2 separate regions of the Homo sapiens genome follow, and region 1 is linked to region 2. The links are contacts of gene promoters, found by promoter capture Hi-C in blood cells and fetal thymus (Javierre and others, 2016). All regions are on one chromosome and are shown on one strand. The core of a region is centred on a gene start or on the middle of the fragment in contact, and the rest is flanking DNA. Distances in the headings are between cores, read along the strand shown.

The links. The method cuts DNA at HindIII sites, captures the fragments that hold promoters and counts their contacts. A CHiCAGO score of 5 or more calls a contact.
Region 1: a contact is called between a fragment that was not itself captured here and the fragment with the promoter of PIANP in region 2, in 4 of 17 cell types (activated CD4 T cells, endothelial precursors, naive CD4 T cells and 1 more). The highest score is 6.1, in activated CD4 T cells.

What each region holds. Positions count from the first base shown.
Region 1 is chr12:6,665,536-6,671,062 of GRCh38, reverse strand. ZNF384 (zinc finger protein 384) reads left to right here. Exons shown (of 12, transcript NM_001385745.1): 10 at 225-303; 11 at 1,874-2,032; 12 at 2,948-4,586. The coding sequence ends at 3,349. Among named protein-coding and RNA genes, the nearest start is that of ING4, 5.2 kb to the right of the region's middle. The HindIII fragment of the contact is 755 bases long and covers 2,849-3,603 here.
Region 2 is chr12:6,697,888-6,703,420 of GRCh38, reverse strand. It overlaps PIANP (PILR alpha associated neural protein), which reads left to right and starts at 2,606. Exons shown (of 5, transcript NM_001244014.2): 1 at 2,606-2,807; 2 at 5,317-5,376. The coding sequence starts at 5,360. RefSeq lists an enhancer at 3,325-3,826. The HindIII fragment of the contact is 12,862 bases long and covers 1-5,533 here.

The DNA of each region.
Region 1 (5,527 bases), core at 1,977-4,476, 33 kb after region 2:
TCCCCCAGCAGAGAGGAGCCTCAGCTTGAGCTGAGTGATGCAGGCATTGACCAGAAGCAAATCATCAGTACCTGATCCACATCAGAGAGGAAGGCTGGTGCCTCTTGGAGGCCCATCTGATGTGCCTCCTTAGGAGAGCAGGATGGGCCTGGAGAAGATTTGTTGAGCCAGTTCCTAAATGGTCTTGCTGACATTCTTTCCCTTTTTTCTCTTATCCTGTGCAGAATCCACACTGGTGATAGACCATACAAATGTGCACACCCAGGCTGTGAGAAAGCCTTCACACAACTCTCCAATCTGCAGGTAAATGTTCCACCCTCCACACAAGACCTTGAGTCTGAGACATGGGGCCATTTGAATAGTATCGTGGTTCTCAAATGTTTTCAGGACTCCTTTACACTCAAACATTATTGAGGGACCCAAAGAGTTTTTGTTTATGTGGGTAATAGCTGTCTACATAGACGTTGTAAAACTGAAAAACCTGAAAAATATTTATAATAGTAATCTGTTTAGAAAGAACAAAAATAAACCCATTGTGTGTTAACATAAATAACATATTCCAAGACCCTCCAAAAACAACTGAGTGAGAAGAATGGCATTATTATACATTTTTGCAGGTGTCTATTTTTTATTTTTGGGACAGGACCTTGCTCTGTCACCCAGGCTGAGTGCAGTGGTGTTATCATGGCCCACTGCAGCCTCAGCCTCCCGGTCTCAAGTGATCCTTCCACCTCAGCCTCCCAAGTAGCTGGGATTCTAGGCATGCACCATCACACCTGGCTGTTTTTTTCATTTTCGTAGAGATGGGGTCTTGCTATCTTCCCTAGGCTGGTCTCGAACTCCTGGACACAGGCCATCCTCCCGCCTCAGCCTCCCCAAAGTGCTAGGATTGCAAGCATGAGTCACCGCACCTGGCACAGGGGTCTTTAATGTCTTAAGCTAGAAGATGAGTAGATTCTCAGATCTGCTGCATCTGGCCTATTGTGTTATCACACATCATGTAACCTCTGTAAGGGTTACATGTAAAACATAAGGCACAATGAAGCCACTTGAAATTTTGAGGGGAACAAGATTTCAGTTAGGTTTTTCATCTTTGTGTTTGTGTGTGTGTGTGTGTGTGCGCGCGCGCGTGTGCGTGTTTGAGACAGAGGCTCGCTGGGTCACCTAGGCTGGAGTGCAGTGGTGTGATTTCAGCTTACTGCAACTTCCCAGGTTCAAGAGAGACAAAGGCAAACATTGTCTTATTATTTTGAAAAGATTTGGCTGGGCGCGGTGGCTCACACCTGTAATCTCAGCACTTTGGGCGGCGGAGGCGGGCGGATCACCTGAGCTCAGGAGTTGGAAACCAGCCTGGCCAACACGGTGAAACCTTGTCTCTACTAAAAATACAAAAAAAATTAGCCAGGCCTGGTGGCATGTGCCTGTAGTCCCAGCTACTTGCAGGCTGAGGCAGGAGAATCGCTTGAACCCGGGAAGCGGAGGTTGCAATGAGCCGAGATTGTGCCGCTGCACTCCAACCTGAGCGACAGAGTGAGAGACTTCATCTGGGAAAAAAAAAAAAAAAGAGTTTTGACCCTGTGGGCCCCCTGTGAAGGTCTTAGTGTTCCCTAAAGATCCCCATGCCTCATTTTAAGAACCACTGGACTGGTGAGACGGGCATAAGCTGTCTTGGGATCCTGGTATGTGCTACATGAGGTATGCTTCCACCCTTAGCCTGTAGCTTCTCAAGTTTCATTTGAAACAATTTCTACTTTCTTCAGATAGAGGGAGAAGCTGGGAGGCCTGACACCTACCTTTTTGCTTTCCATCGAGGTCAAGGGGGCAGGAGGAAAGAGTACAATGTATTCATTCTGGTTTCTCCCAATTTTCTCAGTCCCACAGACGGCAACACAACAAAGATAAACCCTTCAAGTGCCACAACTGTCATCGGGCGTACACGGATGCAGCCTCACTAGAGGTGCACCTGTCTACGCACACAGTGAAGCATGCCAAGGTGTACACCTGCACTATCTGCAGTCGGGCATACACATCAGTGAGTGCTCCGTTTCTTCTCTCCTTCCTCATAGTCCTCTAAGAGTACAGTCCACTTCACCCCATTTTCTGGGTAGAGATCTGTTGCAGTGAATACCCTGCCTCCCTAGCTCCAACTTAGCAGAACAGGTAAATATTCAGAAATTAATTAGACCCATTCTGAGGAATTTAGGGGATGCCTGATCTCCTAATCCTATAGAGACGCATAAGCTGTAATTCTTCATTTTACTTAAACATAAGGCAAAATAAAGCCACTTGAAATTTTGAGGGGAGCTGGATTTCAGTTAGGCATTTTCTTCTTCTTTTTTTTTTTTTTTTCTTTTTGAGACACAGTCTCGCCCTGTCACCCAGGCTGGAGTGCAGTGGTGTGATCTCGGCTCGGCTCACTGTAACCTCCACCTCCTGGGTTCAAGCGATTCTCCTGCCTCAGCCTCCCAAGTAGGTGGGATTACAGGTGCATGTTGCCATGCCCAGCAACTTTTTGTATTTTTAGTAGACATGGGGTTTCACCATGTTGCCCAGGCTGGTCTCAAACTCCTGACCTCAAGTGATCCACCTACCTCAGCCTCCCAAAGTACTGGGATTACAGGTGTGAGCCACCGCACCTGGCCCAGTTAGATATTTTCCATGAGACTCCAGAAAAGGTTGTAAAGTTGTTTCATTCAGGGGTCTTTGAAAAAAATAGCAGCTCATTCCTTTGCCAGTTGAATGTTGAGTGACTTCTAAAGGTTCCTCTCTTTTTTTTCTCAGTAGTGAGCCACTGAAAGTGCTACTTGAGTTTTGCTCAGTCTTGGCTCCAGAAAACCAGTATAAAGCTTACTCTGCTTACAGCAGAATCAGAGCCTGGGGTGCTAGTTACAAGTAATCTCTTTTCCTTCCTCTTTATCCCTCAACTTCTTTTTACCATCTCCCTCAGGAAACATACCTTATGAAACATATGCGCAAACACAACCCGCCTGATCTTCAGCAACAGGTGCAGGCAGCAGCAGCAGCGGCAGCAGTGGCCCAGGCCCAGGCTCAAGCTCAAGCCCAGGCTCAGGCTCAGGCTCAAGCCCAGGCCCAGGCCCAGGCCTCCCAGGCATCACAGCAGCAGCAGCAGCAGCAGCAGCAGCAGCAGCAGCAGCAGCAACAGCCACCACCACACTTCCAGTCTCCTGGGGCAGCCCCCCAGGGTGGGGGTGGTGGGGACAGCAATCCCAACCCTCCACCCCAGTGTTCCTTTGACCTGACCCCGTATAAGACGGCGGAGCATCATAAGGACATCTGCCTCACTGTCACCACCAGCACCATCCAGGTGGAGCACCTGGCCAGCTCTTAGAGATCCGTGCTGCCACCCACTGGGAAGAGGAAGAAGTAGTCCTGGTGTCTTCTTTCTCCAACTCTTGGTGGGAAAAGTCCTTTTCTTCCTTGACAGGCCTTGGCTCCATCTCCTTGGGCCTCTGTCACGGCTTTCCTTCACAGGATACCATCCTTTTTCTGAACTCTTCTTCAAAAGGAACATCAGCCCTCCTGATTGCAAAGGAATACTGAGCTGATGGTGTCATCCAGCAGCCTCCCCTCCCAAGCAAAGCTTCTAAAACTGGGGGTCGGTGCTCAAGGGAAGGATTTGCTATGACCTCATAGAACCTTGTCCAGTGTGGCCACTTACCCTATCCTTACCCTCCTTATCCTCAAAGTTTGGGCTGATGTAAGACTAGAGGCTGGCCCTCCCAGATAACAGAGAAAAGGGAGCCCCAAATGCAACCAGCCTCTTGTTCTATTCTTGCCTGCAAAAGAACAGAGGTTTCTCAAATGCCTCAGTCCCTGAGAGCCATTTCTTCCCCTACATCGTCTCACTTTGCTTCCTATTGACTGCTGGTAGAAGGAGATTTGGGGTAGGGGCTAGACCTCCTTTTATTTGAAGGGGGCAAGGGCTGAGATGTGGTCCCCAAGGGGCCAGAAATTCCCAAGTTGGTCACAGGTGGCTTAGAAGTGTGTGTTATGGTTTTACGGATTTCCTTGAAGCCTCTCTCCTTCTCTGCCTACAAAGACCCTATACTCTCAGTCTCCCCAACCCACCCCCAAGGAGCTGTGGGAGGCTTTGTGTTATCTGTGAAACTCCAAAACAGGGGTGTTGCGGAGAAGGGAGAGTTCAAGGCAAACGCAAGGACTGGACTTAGCTCCCTAGGTGCCACAGTCAGATGCCGGACACGGATTTATATATAAATATATATATATAAATATATTATACTCACTCATCACGGCCATCTTTGTTGTAACCATTTCTGTGTTTATAAATGCATTATCTCTGAGAATTTTCATATTTGATGTTTTGTTTATTTTTGTCCTTTTTTTCCCTCTCTCCACCCCTGTCCTCTAGCCACAGCATTTTTCTTTTTGTCTTTTTTTTTTTTTTTTAAATCATGGCAGATTTCAGAGGAAAGGAAATTAAAAAAAAAATCAGGAAACCAGTTGTTATAAAGTAATTTAAAAATGAAGAAAAAAAGAAAAAAACTTATGTACAAACCAAGGGGTGTTTTTAGAACATTGTATAGAAATAAATTCATGTAAAAGGATCAGAGGCAGTGGAGCTACTGATGTGAGCGAGCATGCGGAAAAGGTATTTGGGGAGATGTCCAAGAACAGTACTGAGGATTTATACCAGAGTGTGTGTGTGATGAACAAGTGCTTGTGTGATGATGCCCCATTTGTGCAATTCTCCAGTCATGGAAGGGTACAGTTTCATGATGTCTCCAGTGAAATCCTGGTTTATGAGGACTTCTACATACACATTCTGTCATGGGGATTGCATTGCCTAAATATGTGAGAGCAAGGCTTTGGTTATGTGTTAACAAAACAGCTAAGCTCCCTATGGAAGAAAAATGGAAGCCTCTTGAAAGGACCTACACTCCTGCCTGAGTCTGTGGAAGAGGGGCTTGCAGTTGGCAATGTGTATACATATGTGTATTTGTTACCTTGTGGAAATCATAACCGGTTAAGGGGTGCAAGATTGATTTATGCAGGAGAGCTGTAGTACTATGGAGTAGAATGTGGTCATGAAACCTGGACTTCAGCCCTTTGCCTACCATCAACCAGTGTTGGCCAGGGTGCTTCTTCAACTGTTAGTGAAGGGATTGGACTAGATAACTCTGAAGATACCTTTTTTGAGAATTAAGTAACTTGCTTTAAGGCTGGGTGCGGTGGCTCACGCCTGTAATCCCAGCATTTTGGGAGGGCGAGGCAGGCAGACTACTTGACGTCAGGAGTTCAAGACCAGCCTGGCCAACATGGTGAAACCCCATCTCTACTAAAAATACAAAAATTGATGGCCGTGCACGGTGGCTCACGCCTGTAATCCCAGCACTTTGGGAGGCCGAGACAGGTGAATCATGAGGTTAGGAGCTCGAGACCAGCCTGGCCAGTATGGTGAAACCCCGTCTCTACTGAAAATACAAAAAATAAGCTAGGCATAGTGGTGGGCGCCTGCAATCCCAGCTACTCAGGAGGCTGAGGCAGG
Region 2 (5,533 bases), core at 1,357-3,856:
ATTTCAGAAAGTGATGAGTCGGGCCAGGCGTGGCGGCTCACGCCTGTAATCCCAGCACTTTGGGAGGCCGAGGTGGGAGGATCACCTGAGGTCAGGAGTTCGAGACCAGCCTGGCCAACATGGTGAAACCCCGTCTCCACTAAAATTACAAAAATTAGCCAGGCATGGTGGTGTGCACCTGTAATCCCAGCTATTTGGGAGGCTGAGGCAGGAGAATCGCTTGAACCCAGGAGGCAGAGGTTGCGGTGAGCCAAGATTGCACCATCGCACTCCAGCCTGGGCTGCGAGAGCAAAACTCCATCTCAATAAATAAATAAACAAATAGAAAGTGATGAGTTGGAAAGACAATGAAACATAATGAGGAAACAGAGTGGGGGCCACTTTAGATTTTGAGCAGGGATGAAGGAGCCAACCAGGTGAAGATGGGGAGAGGGGTGGCAAAACATTCCAGGAAGAGGGAATCAAAAGTGGAGGGGCCGGGCGCAGTGGCTCACGCCTGTAATCTCAGAACTTCGTGAGGCCAAGGCTGGTGGATCATTTGAGGTCAGGAGTTCAAGACTAGCCTGGCCAACATGGTGAAACCCTGTCTCTACAAAAAATACAAAAATTAGCAGGGCACTAGTGGGCACTGCCAGAGGGGTGGGAGGGCTGGGAAGGCTGGAAGGGCCCCCCTGCATGCACACGCTAGCTACTTGGGAAGCTGAGGCAGGAGAATTGCTTGACCCTGGGAGGCGGAGGTTGCAGTAAACTGAGATCGTGCCATTGCACTCCAGCCTGGGCAACAGAGAGACACACTGTCTCGAGAAAAAAAAAAAGTGCAGGGATGCTAAGAGAATGACTTCTGATGTTACAGAACAGCAAGTAGTCTGATCCAGCAGGAGCACTGTGTATGAGGTGGGTACAGGCTGGTGGGCTTCTCCTTACAAGGAGTTCAGATTTATTCCAAGTGTAATGAAAAACCACTCGAATATTTTAAGCAGAGAAGAGCATGACATGCTTTTGATTTTTAAAATATTATCAATATAGGAAAAACTAGTTTGTAAAGACAAGGGCAGAAGCAGGGACCAGTGAGGAAGCTATTATGATAATCTGGATGAGACATGATGGCTTAGACCAAGACTATAGCAATAAAGATAGAAGGAGATGAATTCGGGATATATTTTGGACGCAGAGCCCACAGGACTTGTTGGTGAATTAGATACAGGGAGAGAATCAGTGAAAAAAAGGGGAAGGGAGGGATGTTTCCTAGATTTTTAGCCTGAACAACTAGTAGTTGTGAAGCCTCAGGATGGGGATCACTGGGAGAAAAATGGATTGGGGGTGGGGGAATTCAAGACATCTATTTTAGTCAAGTTAGCTTTGCATGGCTATTAGACATCCAAGTGGAGATGTCAAGTAGGCTGTCGGATAAATGAGTCTGGCGCTCTGGATATAAATTTAGGACTCACTGACATTTACATAGTATTTAAGCCCTGGGACCGGATGAGATCACTGGACAGAGAATGTGGAAAGAGAGAATGGCCAAGGACTAAGCCCTAGGAGGCTCCAACATTTAGAGGTCACCCGAGGAAGACTAAGAACAGTCAGTGAGGTTGGAGGGAAATGAGGAGAGTGTGGTGTCCTGGAAGTGCCCTGAGGAAAAACAGCGTAGTGTGGTAGAGAGGGATGGGATCCAGGTGGTGGGAGAAGGGGCAGGAGAGGCTACTTTTGATAGAGACATTAGGGAAGGCCTCCCAGAAGGCGTTGGATCTAAGTGAGACTGGAATGAAAACAGTAAGTCATTGTGAAAAGCCAGGGAAATGTATTACTGAGGGAACAGCAAGTGCAAAGGCCCTGAGGCAGGTTAAACCTGTCTCCAACCAGGAAATCCACCAGGTCCCATGTGGCTGAAGCATAGAAATCTTTAGGAAAGGCAATCAGAGAGCCACCTAAGAGCCAGGTTATATAGGGTCTTGTAAGTCACAGCACGGAGTCTAGGTATTCCAGTGCTGGAAAAGCCCAGGAATTTCGACGTGATCCACTTAATGCATGGTAGCAGGGCCAGAGTGAAATAGGGGATCAAGCTGTGGGGATAATCCAAAGATGGTGCAAGGTCCTTCCTCCCCAGTCCTTTCCTCCACCCCTTGCCCCCAGCCTTGACCTCAGGCACTTTCTACAGCGGGCAAAACCAAGTTGGGGGACAGGCAGTGGTGACTCACGCCTGTAATCCCAGCACTCCGGGAAGCTGAGCGGGAAGGATCGCTTGAGCCCAGGCGTTCGAGACCGGGCTGGGCAACACAGCGAGACCTCATCTCTACAAAACACAATACAAAAGAACAAAGTTGGGAATGCAGAGCATTGAGTGACTCAGAATCTCAGAAACTGACTGAGGCGACCATGGGTGTCCCTGGAGTTGGGGTGAAGGAGGTGGGGAGACTGCCATCAGAACCCAGGGAAGCGGACGGTCGCTGGACCCTGCCAGCCTCTTCAGCCCTCCACCTGGGACATAGCCTGGCTTGACTCCTGCAGCGCGGCAGCAGGAGGGTTAAACCGTGCGTGGCCTCCGGCGCGGGGGGGAGGCGGAGACGGAGACGGAGCGGTCCCAGCCGCCGCGCCGAGCCCAGCCGAGCCGAGCCGAGCCGAGCCGAGGCGAGCATCTCCCACCGCCGCCGCCCCGCGCCCCAGGCGCCCGCCCCCCACCCGCTCCAGCGCCCTGCCGCGGGCCAAACCTCCCCACCATGCCCCGCACCCCGCCCGCTCCTGCGACCCCCCAGCCCCGCTCAGTCCCGAGCGCCCGCAGTCGTCGCGCCGCCGCGCCAAGCATGCAGGTGAGTGAGAGGGACCCCCACGCCCCCACCCGCGGGGAGCCCGGCCCTGCCCTTCCCGGCTCCGCGCCCTGCGCCTCCTGCCCCTCCCGACGCGGTCCCTCGCCCGGGACAAGGCCTCCAGCCTCCCAGCGCCCCTTCCCCGAAGGGCTCTCCATCCCTCCGCGGTCCTGGCTCGCTCCCGCCCTCCCTGGCGCAGCCGTCCCCGTCCCCGCGGCTGCCTCCATCCCGCCTCGGCTCGGCGGGCGGCTCCGCGCAGTCTCCTGCTTCGGGTCCCCAGTCCGCTCTCGGCACTCCCTGCCTCGGGGTCCCTTCGCCGACCTCCTTTTCCTCGTCTCCCCCCACTCTCGCCGCTCTCCAGCCCTGTGCGGGGAGTGCGGGCCTGCGGGATGGGTGGGATGGGGGCCACGCTGGGGCTGGGGCCCGGCTCCCGCACCCCGAGGCTCCTGCCCCACCCCCAGCTCGTCTCCTGCGCACAACAGGTCGGTGAGAAGCTGGGAGAGGGGTGGGGGTGGCGCGCCAGCCCGGGGACTGCGGGCTTCCTGGAGGGGGCGGCTGAAGCTGTGCGGGGCCCAGGGACTGGGTTGGCGCTGGCTGGGGGTGGGGATGCACAGGCGGAGGGGCGATAGTCCTAGAGTCAGCTGGCCACAGATGCGCCCTGGGAGCCCTTCTCCGCTTCACTGGTTCGCTCTACACGCCTCGCTCCCTCCCTCTAGCTTTCTTCCTTTCCCCTCTCTCTCCCTTCTTCCCACCATGCCCCCATCCCTATGTCTTTCGGTATCTCCACATCCCTTTACATTTGGGGGAGCAATTCCGAACTCCTCCATCTTTGCTGCTCCCGCCTCTGCTTCCCAGCCCGTTCCTCGTGTCATTTTTCCTTAAGCATTTATGTTCTCTCCTTCCCCACTTCCTTTCTCCCCATCCTGGGCTTTCCCCCCTTTTCTCCCATCCCCTTACTCTCCACTCCTCTGGCTGTCCTGCCTGGACCGCTCTCTCCTTCTCCTCCTGCCCCTTCTTCCCCTGCACCTGTGACCCCTTCATCCTCTCCGTTTCCCCTCCCTGACCTTTTCTCTCATCCTTTCCTCCCTTCGGCATCCTCCACAGTTCGAGTCTTCTGTACCCACTCTCCTCCTCTCTTCCCAGTTCTCTCTTTTTCAGGACTGCCTGCTCTCTCTCACCCTGCACTCCAGGCCAGCTTCCTCTTCACATTTCTCCTCTCTCACTCTTAACCAGCCTTCCATCTCCCAGCCCTTCACCCCTTCCCATCTCTCCCACTGCCTGCTTCCCCACGCCCTTCCCGTGACTTTCCCATCTTGTTCCCTTGTTGTTCTCTGGGAAGATTCAATGGGCAGATTTATTTATTTTATTTTTTGAGTCGGAGTCTCGCTCTTGTTGCCCAGACTGGAGTGCAATGGTGTGATCTCAGCTCACTGCAACCTCCGCCTCCCAGGTTCAAGGGATTCTTCTGCCTCAGCCCTCTGAATAGCTGGGATTGCAGGCGCCCACCACTACCCCCGGCTAATTTTTGTATTTTTAGTAGACACGGGGTTTCACTATGTTGGCCAAGCTAGTCTCGAACTCCTGATCTCAGGTGATCCACCCGCCTTGGCTTCCCAAAGTGCTAGGATTACAGGCGTGAGCCACTGCGTCTGGCCCATTGGGCAGATTTAGACCCAGAATCCACAGGAAACGGGTATCCTATCTTCACTCCCTCTGGGGAGCCTGCCCCTCCTGGATCCACCACCCTCAGCTCTGAGAACACACCCTTTCTCTTTCAAAACCAACCATCCCGATTTTCCCAGGATTCTTTACCCAGGAGAGCCACATTTGAGGGGGTGGTTTCTTCCTGACTCCACCTCCCTTCAGAGGGCACCTATGCACTTGGATGATTAAACATTAAGAGCAAAAATTATATTCTGTAGTTTTTCTCCCACTCACCTCTCTCTTTCTGTCTCTTTCCTTCCATCCCTCCAGCTCTTCATTCCTTTCTCCTGAAGATGCAGACTCCTGGGGCTAATCATAAGACAAATGCCTGGCACTGCCAGAGGGGTGGGAGGGCTGGGAGGGCTGGAAGGGCCCCCCTGCACGTACACACACTCACTGGCTTGCTCAGATTGACTTCCCCATCCCTCCCCCTACCCTCAGACTCCCTCCCTAGCGGTAGGTGCTCAAGGAATCACAAGGTTCTTGGCTCTAAATTAAGATCCAAGAAAAGCCTGGAGCTGTGGGCAGAGGAAGTGAGAAGAAGGGAAATCAGAGAAGCCAGAGTAGACCCTGGGGTGGAGAGGTAACAGGGACCTGAGAAGTTGTAGATGGGGCTGGAGTCTGGTCAGGCAACCACGCTGGAGTTTTTCCCCCAAAAGGATGCTAACAACCAGTGAATCCTGGGTGCAGCCGCATAGCTGGCAGCTGGGTGGCCTGGGAGGGCAGATGCGGGTAGAATTGGTGGATGAATTAGCTGGGGAAGTACACAGGGCAGGGCTGGGGTGTGACGGCCCCCTTTTTCTCCCAGTAAAGGCTGAAAATCTGGGTCACAGCTGAGGAAGACCTCAGACATGGAGTCCAGGATGTGGTAAGTTTGGCCCAGCAGAGGGAGCCTGGAGACCACATTCCCTGGGGCCATGACTCCTTCCTTCCTAGACCCATCCAGAGCCTTCCCATCCTGAGGGCCATCCTCCTTTGGAAGATGGGAAATGAGGCGAGTCTTCCCAAGGCCCACCTGCTTTCAC